2 separate regions of the Homo sapiens genome follow, and region 1 is linked to region 2. Evidence: promoter capture Hi-C in 16 types of primary human blood cells and fetal thymus (Javierre and others, 2016). All regions are on one chromosome and are shown on one strand. Each heading gives the region's core, a stretch centred on a gene start or on the middle of the fragment in contact. The rest is flanking DNA. Distances are from core to core; before and after follow the strand shown. Region 1 overlaps LINC02198 (long intergenic non-protein coding RNA 2198). Region 2 holds the start of CARTPT (CART prepropeptide).

Region 1 (6,599 bases), core at 1,798-4,297, 2.7 Mb after region 2:
ACCTCTGTGCCTAACACAACAACTTTCTCTAGAATATTTATTTGTAATACCTTAGGCCTGGCCACATTTGTCTGGGACAAATAATAAATAAATTACAAATAAATATTTCACATTTGTGAAGTATCCAAATTGCACAGGGCCCACCTTCTCCCACCCACTCCTCCCACTCTAGACTCATGAACACTGTAGAAATTGGTCCATGGCATTTGCACAGAATGTCACCCATGGCTGAGTTGTACTTTGTCTTAGACCAATAGAAAGTTATGCTTGTTTTTCCTTCTCAGGGACTTGTTGGTTTTGTAGGAAGGGTCTGTAAACCCATGAGTCAATAAGATACCCTTGCTTTAGATCTTCACCTACTTAACAGTCTAGCCACTGATATGACGTGGTAGCAGTCTATATCAGCCTGCTGACAGAGGGTTCATGTTGGGGGATGTATTTTATATTTTAATTCGCATATTTTCCTGAGCACGCATTTCTTCTGACCTATGCCTGAGCAGCCTCTCAAACCAGCATGGAAGCATTATGTTTTGCCATCGAGTGCTGGGGGCTCCAACTAAAGTTGTGTGACCATCTTTGGGTGCCTCCTGCTTCAAACACATGTCTTCTTCAGACTTCGCTTGGCTTCTCAGCCATCTGAAGTCCTCTACAGACTCTGATGATATCAGAAGATGAGAAATTAGGATTAGTCTCATTTTTTGGGAGCTCCCATTCAAATACAGCAGAGGTACAATGAGATGGAGACATAGCTCAATATTGCAGCTCTGTAGTTCTTGCCACTCCAATTTAAAAAGCTGTAGGCTGGGCGCGGTAGCTCACACCTGTAATCCCAGCACTTTGGGAGGCCAAGGCGGGCAGATTACAAGGTCAGGAGATCAACCATCCTGGCTAACACGGTGAAACCCCGTCTCTACTAAAAATACAAAAAATTAGCTGGGCGTGGTGGCGGGTGCCTGTAGTCCCAGCTACTCGGGAGGCTGAGGCAGGAGAATGGTGTGAACCTGGGAGGCGGAGCTTGCAGTGAGCCGAGATCGCGCCACTGCACTCCAGCCTGGGCGACAGAGCGAGAATCCGTCTCAAAAAAAACCAAAAAAACCCCCCCAAAAACAAAAAAAACTGTAAAGAGAGTCCTTGGACTCCCCTGATCTGTGATTCTAGAGAACTGTGTTGCTCAAAGCAGGAGATAGACCCTTCCATGTGGGGTGTTGTTATGGTGGCACTTACTTTCTTCCTCTTTGTATCTTTATCTTATCTGAGGTGCATGCAGATGACTGGAATTGAGGAAGGCAGTTTTTAAGGCTCCTGGGTAAGCATGAATCCAGTGGTATTTGCTGATCAGTGTATTCATCTAGTTCCACATTGAGGATTTCTTCTCCATTGAAGGAAGCAACGCTTCATTAGGCCTATTTAGCTCCTATGATGCCTCTTTCACTTCATCCCTTTCTCCAGTGTCCAACTTCAGTTTCCTCTCCTCCTTCAGTCTCCTCTCCTCTCCTTCATGAAGGCTTCCTTGACCACCAAAGCCCATTGAAATTTTGTCATCTCAGTGATGTTCACTGACTTAGCTTTATTGAGCACCCGTGTTGTGCCAGGTGCTGGGCGGAGAATGTGAATCGACAAAGATGAGCAACAAGTTCCAACTCTTGAACTATATGCAGGAATAGTCATAGCCCTTTTTATCTTTGCAATTGAATGCAGTCTGTTAAACAGCTCTAGGGAGGCACCGTTCATGTGGTTTTCTTTGTGAATGGTGCCCCCTAGAGTTGGACAACTCAAAGGGCATGCTGAGGGTGAAACTTGAAGGGCGATTTGTTAGTCAACTTCAAGGGTTGATTGAATGTTAATCACATATTGCCATGCATTTTTTTTTGCAATCTAATTATAAACTTTTTGAGGGTAAGGGTTATATTTTGATAGTTTTTGTATCTTTATGCATAGGGTTTAGCATGCTGTTTTTTCCTTTAATCAAAATTCAGGAAATACTTAATTGAGTTATTGAAATAGCTTTCTTGGTGAGATTATCAAATTAACTTGTACACTGTTTCGGGAGCAGCTGGATACCAGTTTCTTATCCATCACTGTGAGGGCGTGGAGGGGAGAATGGAGAATCAATTTTTATAAAGCTCTCCAGGCGATTCTCTTCAGACCATTTAGAAAATGTTGTCCCAAGATTTCAGCATATGAATATCAGGAAGCAGATTGACATAAAACTCTTCAATGTGCCACAAACAGCCAAGAAAGTGATGTTAAATTTAGGGTCCACTAGAAATCTCCATAGAATGGAATAAAACTATAAAAATTAAAAGAGAACATAATTAACAAGAATTAAGGGAAGGAGAAAGACTGGTGAAATCATGATGTTTCAGTTACCAATGCTGCATAACACACCATAAAAAACCAAAGCTGGCCAGATGCAGTGGCTCACACCTGTAATCCCAGCACTTTGGGAGGCCGATGTGGGCGGATTACCTGAGGTTGGGAGTTTGAGACCAGCCTGATCAACATGGAGAAACCTCATCTCTACTAAAAATACAAAATTAGCCAGGTGTGGTGGCACATGCCTGTAATCCCAGCTACTCGGGAGGCTGAGGCAGGAGAATCGCTTGAACCCAGGAGGCAGAGGTTGCAGTGAGCCGAGATCACACCATTGCACTCCAGCCTGGGCAACAAGAGCAAAACTCCATCTCAAACAAACAAACAAACACAACCAAAATGGAGTGGCTCAAAGCAACTATCATGCATTATTTCTCATGATTATGTGAGTTGACTGGGCTAAGCTCGGTGGTTTCTCTGCTCCATGTGGTGGAGCTGTGGTCATTCATGCAGCTGTATTCAGCTGGGAGCTTGGCTGGAGCTGGAACATCCAAGATGGCCTCATATTGTGCAGAGCTTTCTGCCTGTGATATCTTATCCAGTAGTCTAGCCTCAACTTCTTCTTCTCTTTTTTCTGGAAAAAAAAAAGAATATATTTATTGATGAGACAAACATGAAGGGATTATTTATTACTTTTGGGCAGCTGGACTGAGGGAGACCAGCCAGCACTGGCTCACAGTGGGAACCAAATAGTGGGGCCAAGATGGGTGAAATTTTCTGATGCACCCACATTCACTCCTGGAATCATCCAGGAATTCACCTATGGCATCTCCAGACACAGAAACACTCTTCTCATGGATGCCATAAGCTCTGAGAATTGGCAAAAACCTTAGATGTCATCCAAAAATCTATATGTGTCCTTGAGACCTCTTTCCTTCATTCTTCACTTCTGATCCACCATCAAGTCATGCTGATCTGTCTCCAAAATATCTTCCAAATCTGTGCATTTTTACCAAGGCCACTGTCACCACCCTGGTTATGGTCACCAACATTGTATACCTCCAGTTGGCTTCCCTGTTTTATTTGATCAGCTCTTCTTGAGACCACACACATGCATTTTCCATGTGCAAATCAAATGATGCCACACCCCTGCTTGGAGCTCCAGGAATTTCTCTTGCACCCAGAGTAAAATCCCAGCTCCTGAACAGGGGTATTAATTTCTAGGGCTGCCTTAACAAACAAAACACCACAAACTGGATGGCTTAAAATGACAGACATTGATTCTTTCACAGTTATGGTGGCCAGAAGTCTGAAATCAAGGAGTCAACAGAGCTGTGCTCCCTCCAAAGGCTCTGGAGGAGAATTGGTTCATGCCTGTCTCCCAGCTTTTGGTGGTGGCCAGCAGTCCTTGGCATTCCTTGGTTTGCAGCTGTGTCACTCTCATCTCTGCCTCTGTCACTATGTGACATTTTTGCTGTGCATCTCTGTTTTCACATGACTTTCCTTTTCTCATAAGGATGCCAGTCAAACTGGATTAGGTCCCACCCTAGTGACCTCATCTTAACTTGATTCCATCTGCAAAGAGCCTATTTCCAAATAAGCTCACAGTTATAGGTACCAGAGGTTAGGACTTCAACATATCTTTTTGGGTAGCGCCAGCTTCATTACAGCATGACAGCTGGCTTCTAAGAAGAGGAAGCAGAATTTGCAATTCTCTTAAGGTCTGGGTTTAGAAGTCTCAGAATTCCATTCCTTTCCCTCCCCTCCCCTCCCCTCCCCTCCCCTCCCCTCCCCTCCCCTTCGCTTCCCTTGACAGGGTCTGGCTCTGTTGCCCAGGCTGGAGTGCAGTGGTGCAATCTTGGCTCACTGCAACCTCCGCCTCCTGGGCTCAAGCCATCCTCCCACCTCAGCCTCCCAAGGAACTGGGACCACAGGCATATGCCACCACACCCGGCTAATTTCTTTAAATTTTTTTGTGGAGACGAGGTTTTGTCATGTTGCCCAGGCTGGTCTCAAACTTCTGAGCTCAAGCTATCTGCCTGCCTCAGCCTCCCAAAGTACTGGGATTACAGATATGAGCCACCATGCCCCACCAGCTGGTGCTACATCCTTTTGGACAAGACAAGTGATAGGGCCAGCCCAGATTCTAGGGGAGGAGAAATAGACTCCACCTCTCAATCTGTATACAGAGAGGGGAAGAATTGTTGGAGGCCATATTTGATTAGTATCTACCACACATTTTCATAGCCACATCTGACACACAGTAAGAAGTGGCTATACTTTTGGGCCATCTAAATTTAAGCCAAAAACCAAACCAAAACAAACAAACAAACAAACAAAAAAACTGCTACAGGATCCATGTAACGGAATGCTATTCAGTAACAAAAAGGAGCAAAATACTGATACATGTGATAACATGGATGCTCAACCTCAAAAACATCATGCTAAGTGAGAGAAGCCAGACAGAAAACCCACATATTGTAGGATTCCATTTGTGTGAAAAGTCCAAAAAAGCAAATCTAAAAGAGAAAAAGTTGATTAGTAGTTGCTTGGGGTTGGAGGAAGGAATGAGGATTAATTGTAAATGGGCATTGAGAGATCTTACTAGCGTAATAAAAATAAAAACTGGAAAAAATAAAAAATATAACTAGACGATGTGGATGGTTACACAAGTGAGTAAATTTATTAAAAAATCATTGAATTATACATGTAGAAGGAGTGAATCTTATGGCATACATTTATTTTTATGGCATAAAAATATATATTTATGACGTATCTATTTCAGTAAAGTTATTAAGAAAATACGGGATGGTGGCTTTTAATTCAAAAGACATGCTCCTAAAGATCTTGCCTAATTCAAACCTTGCACAATTTCAAGTTAATTTTCCCATAGAAATAGAAGTAAAGTAGAAGGGATGTGTCTTCAAAGTGCAAAGCCCCACACCTATTGTGGTCTATTTTTGCCTTTGTTTTCTCAGCCTTACATCATTTACACAGTGCTCCCTCTTAATTTAACAACAGAGCATATCAAGGTTGATATCTGGCCTTCCTCATAACTTTTTATCACATCTAACTTCCAGTCCACAGCTATTGATTTTCCAGCACGTTTTTCAGCAGTAGGGCCATCACTTACATGAGCTGTTGGATGACACTGTTATAGACTATTCAAAAGACTTTAATTCTTAACTACTGTGAAATTTAAAATAAGACCCTGATGGCCACTAAGACCATTGGCCGAAGTGTGGTTGTGCCTGCACAACAGTGCTTGTTGATTAACGATGGCAGGTATTTCTGTAACCCGTTAAAGTGACACTTTCCAATGCAGTAACAAAAACACAGCTTACAAACTTCTCAGCCTGCCCCCTTGAAATTTTGCAAATTTTGACAAATTTCCACATTTAAGGAGATTCATATGTTTTAAATTTTGGTCACAAAGTGAAACTTTATTATTATTACTTTGTGTATTGCACTATTTGAAATAATGCAAATTCACAGGAGTGGCAAATGTACTACATTGCAGAGTCGGTGATGGGGAGAACTTGCCAGCCTAGTTCTCCCTGCCTCCCCCATGTTATTGAGATGGAAAAACTTCCAACATTCAGCATGTGCAGTCCAGATGGCTCAGAAGCCCTTTGTATTTGCATCTATTCAATTTGTAAGGAGTTTGTGTTCCATGAATTTGCATTAGGTTTCAGGTTAGACTCAATAATCCTAAATACCAAGTGAAATTGTGCCTGATCCATTCAGCCTCTGGAGCTTGTCAGAAACTCCAAAATTGGCTTGAATTTTCTTCAAGGATTTATGAATCTGGGCTGAATTTGAGGTTCGTAAAGTGATCCAGCCAGAGTTGCTTAGTCTGGGATTTCAGAACACGTGTTTCACACATTTCTCTCTACACATCAAGCAAGTTGTCATCGTCTGCTGGATTTGTGTCCTGCTCTCCCTAAATGACCTCGCTACCCATTTTAGATCCTCATGTCTTCCTTGGTGTTATGGGTTCAGCTGTGTCCCTCCCAGATTCATATACTGAAGTCCTAACTCCCAGTACCTCAGAATATGACCTTATTTGGAGACAGGATCTTTACAGAGCCAATCAAGTTAAAACGAGGTCATTAAAGTGGGCCCTAATCCAATATGACTGGTGTCCTTATAATCAAGGGAAATTTGTACATAGATAGGCACACAGGGAGGACATCAGGTAAACATTAAGGCAGAGATCAGAGTGATGTGTCTACTAGCCAAAGAATGCCAAAAATGGTCACAAATCACTAGAAGAAGAGAAGGCA
Region 2 (6,713 bases), core at 519-3,018:
TATTAAAAACACTTTATTATGTATAATTTGTACATGCTTCAATTTGTGTCACTTAGGGTGATTTATTTTCCAGGTTGTAATGACATCTACCGAGATTAGCTAGATCTAATTTTCATTCTGCCATGCCACATACAAAAATACAATTTTCAAACAAAGCTTCCCTTCTTTACACAAAGGTACACAAGAGTTTGTCAGACAAATAAAATAAGAATACTTCACACACGTATCAACACCATACAAGGCATTATTCTTCACACAGTAACATCTAATGTGTTCTTTTATTTTTGAAACAGCAGGAAAAGAGCCCTTTCCCTTCAGAGGAAAATAAAAACTTTATCTGTTGCTTAAGCCAAACTCCAGGGAGGAAGGTGTGGTCCTCTGGGGAAAGTAGAGGGATGGGGATGTATGGAGGAGAATGGACGCCCCTTCATAAGCACTTCAGGAGGAAGGAATTGCAGGAGGTTCCTCGGGGACAGTCACACAGCTTCCCGATCCTTGCCCCTTTCCTCACTGCACACTGCTCACCGGCGTCACACTGAAACAACAAAATGTGTGGTCATCGAGTATGAACAAACCCAGGTTCCCAACAGGCAAGTCTCACAGTCAACGCAATTTCTGTCTCTTGAAAGGGGCAATTGGACCCCATCACCATCACAAGAGGTCTACGTACAGTCAGATCTGAAACAGGGAGCCTTGTGCTTATAACCTCAGTGAGAGTACATTTTTTAAAGAAACTTACATTATTAGTTTTATCCTAGTTTCTTCCACCTTTAAGTGGCGAGGGTTGGGGGGCGTGGGAAGGGGAGCATCACATTTCCTGGCTCCTTTTCTTGCCCTCTCAGAGGGGAAAAAAATCAGACCTTTTTCCTGAGCAACAAACAATAGACTTACACTTTCTTACAACCCCTGTTCCTGCTTTCCCATTTCCTCACCCGGGAAGGAAGAAGGAGCCCACAGAATCCTGCAAGCCCATTACCTAAGTTATTTAGCCACATCCTACGGAGAAGACTGTGTGTACGATTCAAGGCGGTGTACTTTCTCTTGGAAAAACACGGGAAGGGAGTGACCACAAACCTTACCATGGGGACTTGGCCATACTTCTTCTCATAGATGGGAACACGTTTACTCTTGAGCTTCTTCAAGACTTCTTGCAGCGCTTCGATCTGCAACACACCGCTTCGGAGCCTGAAGTTGCCGCCTTGGCTGCGAGCCCAGCCCAGGTGCGCACTTCCAGCCCTAGTTATAAGGAGCCCCGGACCCACACGCACTCTGCGGTGGGACTCCGCGGACACAGGGAATGGTCGAGGGGTGGAAACTTAGCGGACGCTGTCCCAGGTACTGACCGCGGGTCTCTGAGCCGCTGGGGTCCCTGTTGCTCAGAGGGGCCGGGATGAGGGATTCGCTCAACAGACTGCCAGGAGCCCGTGAGCTCGAGACGCTCTTCGGATGGCAGTGGGTGCCTGGGCGTTGCGCTCAGCTCCCCGCGCCCTGACTCTGGGAATAGGAGTGGGGGTGGGGGGAGGAGGGAGGCGTGCAAGAGAAGAGACAAGGCGACAGCTCAAGGGGGTCGAGAGCGAGGGGAATACCGACCAGCTCCTTCTCGTGGGAGGCATCATCCACGGCAGAGTAGATGTCCAGGGCTCGGGGCTGGAGCTCGGCGTCCTCCTGGGCACGGGTACCCAACAGAGGTAGCATCAGCAGCAGGGCGGCGCCCAGGAGGGGCAGCAGCCTCACGCGGGAGCTCTCCATCGTTCTGAAACTCGTCGTTGCTGGGGCACCACGCGCTCCCACCTTTTATAGTGAGCCCGAGCCCCCGTGCAGGAAAGAGGGAGGAGGCGAAGAAGGAAGGGGGTGTGGAGGAGGGCCCGGGTCAACCGTCTGTAGGCAGCGCTCCGCCGGCGCTTGACGTCAATGCCCGCCGGGTTCCAGGCGCCTGGGAACGAGGCTCTGCGCACAGATGGGCTAGAGCGCAGAGAACAGGACCCTGCGCCCCCAAAGGCTGTCAGTCTCACGGCAAGGGATGCTCCCCGAGGGGCCTGAGCTGAAGCCGAGGGGCTAGAGGTGAGGGACGGGAAGCGGGAGGGGCCTAGGAAATGGAAAATGCCTTCGGGTCAATGCACAGGCAGGAGAGTCGTTTCCCAACACCTAGCAGTGGTGACAGCTGCAACATCCACCTCGCCAGCCCTGCCTTGCCTCGCACCCCAACCCCAAGTGTGGCGGTGAGAAGGGGGTGTTGCCTCCAGACAGCCACATTTGCTGAGCACCTTACTCTGTGGGGTAGGGGAAGCAAACATACTATACAAAAGAAAGAGAAATAGTGGCCCTCCACGTGATGGGTTCTATGATGGAATCTGTGTGACAATAGTTAAAAGAAGAGAGGGAAAACAGACAAACCCGGATTCAGCAGTGGTGTTGGAAGTGCAGAGAGCCAGGCTCTGGTTCCCATCCTGGCTACACCACGTAAAAGTTGTATGACTTTGAACAAAATGAAGAACCTCTCCAAGCCTCAGCTTTCTCTTTTGTAGATCTAGGATTAAAAAGATATACCTCACAAAGTCATCAGTAGGATGAAATGAGAGATTAAGTATGTCAAACTCCTGGTTCTTAGCTAAGCTTCCCTGTCCCTCCTTTTTGAACTTTGAGGCTGCCCAGGCAAATTTAACCATCCCCAGAACCTCCCCCCACCCACCACCAACCCTTGGTATCCAAGAAGCCTGTCTAGAAAGAGAGTAAAAGAGTGAAAAGAAAGACAGCTCCATGATTATGAAAATATCTCCAGAGATCAGAAGTCAATGGTGAACCAGCTCCCCAACAACTTGGGAGAACAATGTGGCTTTTTTAAAAGTTGAGATCCTTACAGCCTGAATGCACAGGAAAATTCCTGTAGGAAAAGCAATGCTTTCCCGCTTAGACCTGCTTGCTCACCTGGCTTCCTTCACCACACCATCTTTCCCTCAACTGTTCCTAAATTCATCCACTCTTCTCCATCCCCATTACTACAACCCAGTCCTAGACAGCTGCCCCAGTCAACTTAATGTCTACCACTTAATCCCCACCCTATCTTCTCTTGCCTTCCTCTACTCCATAGTTCACCACCAACCAGAGTATTTTTCCCCTTAAAATACACTAATGACTCCTAATCTTACTAAGCACTGAATCTAGATTCCTCATCCTGACTTGCAAAGCATTATATGATCTTCACCCCTCTCCACCTCATGTTCTACCACTCTGCCCCAGACTCCTCCACTCCAACCTCACATGGCCTTCTTTCTGGTCCTCTAGCAGGCCAATCTCATTCATACTTTGATGTCTTTGCACTTACCCCTCCTTGAAAGGTCTTCCTGTATTTCCAAAAGGCTCACTACTTCTGTTATTTAAATCTCAGTGTAAATATCTATGACTACTCAATCCAAACCATCTATCAATACTTTTCTCCCACAAATTTATTGCATAGCAGATTATGTGGGTCATTAAGATAGTTTAATACACAATATATGCCTGGTTACTTCAACTATCAAGTATTTAATTGGTACTCAAATACTCACTGGGAAGCAATTCAAGAAGTGATATCTCTTCTAATGAATAGCACACATATTAACAGCATCAAAATATTTTGCTGTGGGGTAAACCCAACTTGAAAATGTATCTAACACCTCCCTCAGCTCTGCCTTCCACACATACCTTTTGATTCTGCACAAGAAAACTTCAGTGGCAGCACGTTTTACTGTTAAAACCTTACAGAGACATATTGACACTCACTGCAAAAACCATCTCCAGTGATCTTTAAACTATTCTAAGCTTCAGAAGAAAAATAATCTCAAATAAGATTTTAGCCTATTCTTCCTGAAGGATGTAGATATTGTCAATGCAATACTTTCTCTCCAATTTTGTTCTACCCAGACACAAGTAATAACTTTCCCTTTGTGCTACTTCTATTGGAAAAAAATCCAAAGTTTAAATCTTGCTGAACTTGAGTTGGTGCTATCATTTTCTTATAAGGAAGGCACATTTAGTTAAGGGGTTAGGGAAAGGACTCTTGGAAAATCCTGTGAAACAAGCCAGGGGCATCTTTGTCACTTACATACCACAGGCTTTTCTTCATCTTGAACAGAATGACTTTATAAACTGTCTTTAGCTAGCATGGTATAGTAAATTCTAGGCTATCTTCTTCCCAAAGACAACTTTTATGTAAGTTAAAACTCAAAAAGAAACAAAAGCATGAGACATTCCACAGTCTTCATATTATGCCCTGTTAGGAGAATTTGTATATTCTTACTACTTTGTAATGACTCCATTAGGGGAAAAAAGCCCATCACTGATGCCCCAAGCAATTAAAATCATATGGAATTTAACTACTACTTCTCACCCCAGATATAGAAAAGGGAGGCAGGTCACCTCATGAAAGAGAAGCAATGGCCAGGATGGGTCTTTGGAGATTTAATGTGAACAAATCTCTCTTAATCATCTTTTCTGAGATAGAGTAGGCCTCCAGTCCTGCTCTTTGAAATAGCTCAAGTAAAGAAATCTCATAAGCAGACAGCCAAGAAACCAGTGCCAGCAAGATCTACTTACAACATACTGCTATCTGAGAACATTTTAAAAACCTCTTCTTACTCATGCCTAACTCTTGGAGTCCTGAACTTTTCACTATAAAAATAACCCATCAATTGATTTGTGACTTGGCAAGAAAACGATGTCTGTATTGTTCTTGGAAAAAAGAAAACACACACACACACCCCTTAAAACATATGTGTTCAATATTACTAAATTAGAACCCTAGAGCCCTAAGATTTTAAGTAATGAGAAGGTCATGGCAGAATTTAACACCACAGTGATGTTTTTTCCTAAGCTTTAGTATTTCTCTCTCCCTTCCTTTCTCCTTCAGTTGTGAATAATTTCTGTTCCTATGTAACTCAGAATAACACTGGCCTCTTAGGTTGTCGTATTTCCCAAATATCAGACTACTTTGTTAACCATTAACCCTCCTCTCCCATCCCTCACCCCAACCAAGTCTTGTTCAACAGTAAAACATCCTCAATTTCAGCGAGGTGCAGTGGCTTACACCTGTAATCCTAACACTTTGGAAGGCCGAGGCAAGAGGATTATTTGAGCTCAAAAGTTCAAGACCAGTCTGGTCTGGCTGGGCACAATGGCTCACGCCCGTAATCCCAGCACTTTGGGAGGCCAAGGCAGGTGGATCACCTGAGGTCAGGAGTTTGAGATCAGCCTGGCCAACATGGCAAAACCCCATCTCTACTAAAAATACACAAATTAGCCAGGTGTGGTGGCATGCACCTGTAATCCCAGCTACTTGGGAGGCTGAGGCAGGAGAATTACTTGAACCCAGCAGGGCAGAGATTGCAGTGAGCTGAGATCACACCACTACACTCCAGCCTAGGTGACAAAGCGAGGCTCTGTCTCAAAAACAAAACAAAACAAAACAAAACAAAAAAACAGTCTGGTCAACATGGTGAAACCACATATCTACAAAAGAAAAAAAAAAAGAAAAGAAAAAAAAAATTAGTCAGAAGTGGTGGCACATGCCTGTAGTCCCAGCTACTCAGGAGGCTGAGGTAGGAGGATTAATTGGGCTCAAGAAGTTGAGGTTGCAATGAGCCATGATCACACCACCACTGCACTCCAGCTTGGGTGACAAAGTGAGCCCCTGTGACAAAAATAAAATAAAAATTTAAAATTTCAATTTAAATTTTGGTAAGTCCTCAGTTTTATTGACTTCCTAAATATTCATATTTAAGACTGTTTCTCCTTATTTGTGTTAGTTGCACTTTCCTCCAAGTTAAACATCACTCTGTTCTCTTTGGTACACATATGCAATCTCTTGGGTGACTTTTTTTCATTTCTACATTGTTTGCTCTCCACTCTTCCTCCCTGCAGAAGAGAGATTAATTCCCATTGACATTTATGTTCTGTTTACTTCCAAGCCATAGCCTTCCAAAGGAACTGCTATTCACTGTGTTCTAACTAAACATCTTTATCACTATCTGAAAGAAAATAATCTGTAAGTAAAGGACACTTGGAGTCGGTTCTAAATTGGGAGGGGTGGAGATGCAGTAGCAAAGAACATGTGCTTTACAGACTGCTTCTGAAGGAGCAAAGCAGGCGAAATTAAACAAAGCTTTTCAGTCAATTTTTTAAGCTTCCAATTGAAAAGCTTTCCATTTCAAGACTTAATTTTAAAATCTGGGTGCCCTATATGCTCACAACTCTGCTAAGTATTTTGAGGACTGCTGAGATAATCCAGACACTTCTTGCCTTGAGGATCTTTGGGTCTAGTCATTTGTGCCCACGTCCACAAACTCCTAAAATACAATGACTTAGTGAGATGAGGGTCCTACTAGAGAAAGAGGAGCCCAGAGAAGTCAGAGATTCATTGCCACAAGAGGGAATCTTCGTGAAAAAGGGGCATCCTTTGAATGAGCTACTGAGTCCTAGGGGATGGGTAGAATTCCAACAATAGCAAACATCCCACTCTGGGACCTTGGGGGCGGGCAGGCAGCAAAGTCAAGTCATCAAGGTAGGAGATCTGGGGAGCACTGAGTGCTCTGGGTTGCTGGAGAGCAGGGTGCATGGGAATGTGAGAGACGGGGAAGCATAATGGGAAACAAGCCTGAAAAGGAACTTTGGAGCACAAAAAGAAAATCCAGAGTGGCAATAGATAGTTCCAAATTTGGATCCAATAAACAGGTGGTAGG

The links. The method cuts DNA at HindIII sites, captures the fragments that hold promoters and counts their contacts. A CHiCAGO score of 5 or more calls a contact.
Region 1: a contact is called between a fragment that was not itself captured here and the fragment with the promoter of CARTPT in region 2, in 1 of 17 cell types (non-activated CD4 T cells). The highest score is 5.6, in non-activated CD4 T cells.

Annotation. Positions count from the first base shown.
Region 1 is chr5:69,019,507-69,026,105 of GRCh38, reverse strand. The region is part of intron 1 of LINC02198 (long intergenic non-protein coding RNA 2198); the gene reads left to right. Among named protein-coding and RNA genes, the nearest start is that of LINC02198, 7.1 kb to the left of the region's middle. The HindIII fragment of the contact is 9,394 bases long and covers 1-6,599 here.
Region 2 is chr5:71,714,330-71,721,042 of GRCh38, reverse strand. It overlaps CARTPT (CART prepropeptide), which reads right to left and starts at 1,768. Exons shown (of 3, transcript NM_004291.4): 1 at 1,591-1,768; 2 at 1,080-1,163; 3 at 1-535. The coding sequence starts at 1,749. The coding sequence ends at 428. RefSeq lists an enhancer at 744-1,630. The HindIII fragment of the contact is 2,457 bases long and covers 159-2,615 here.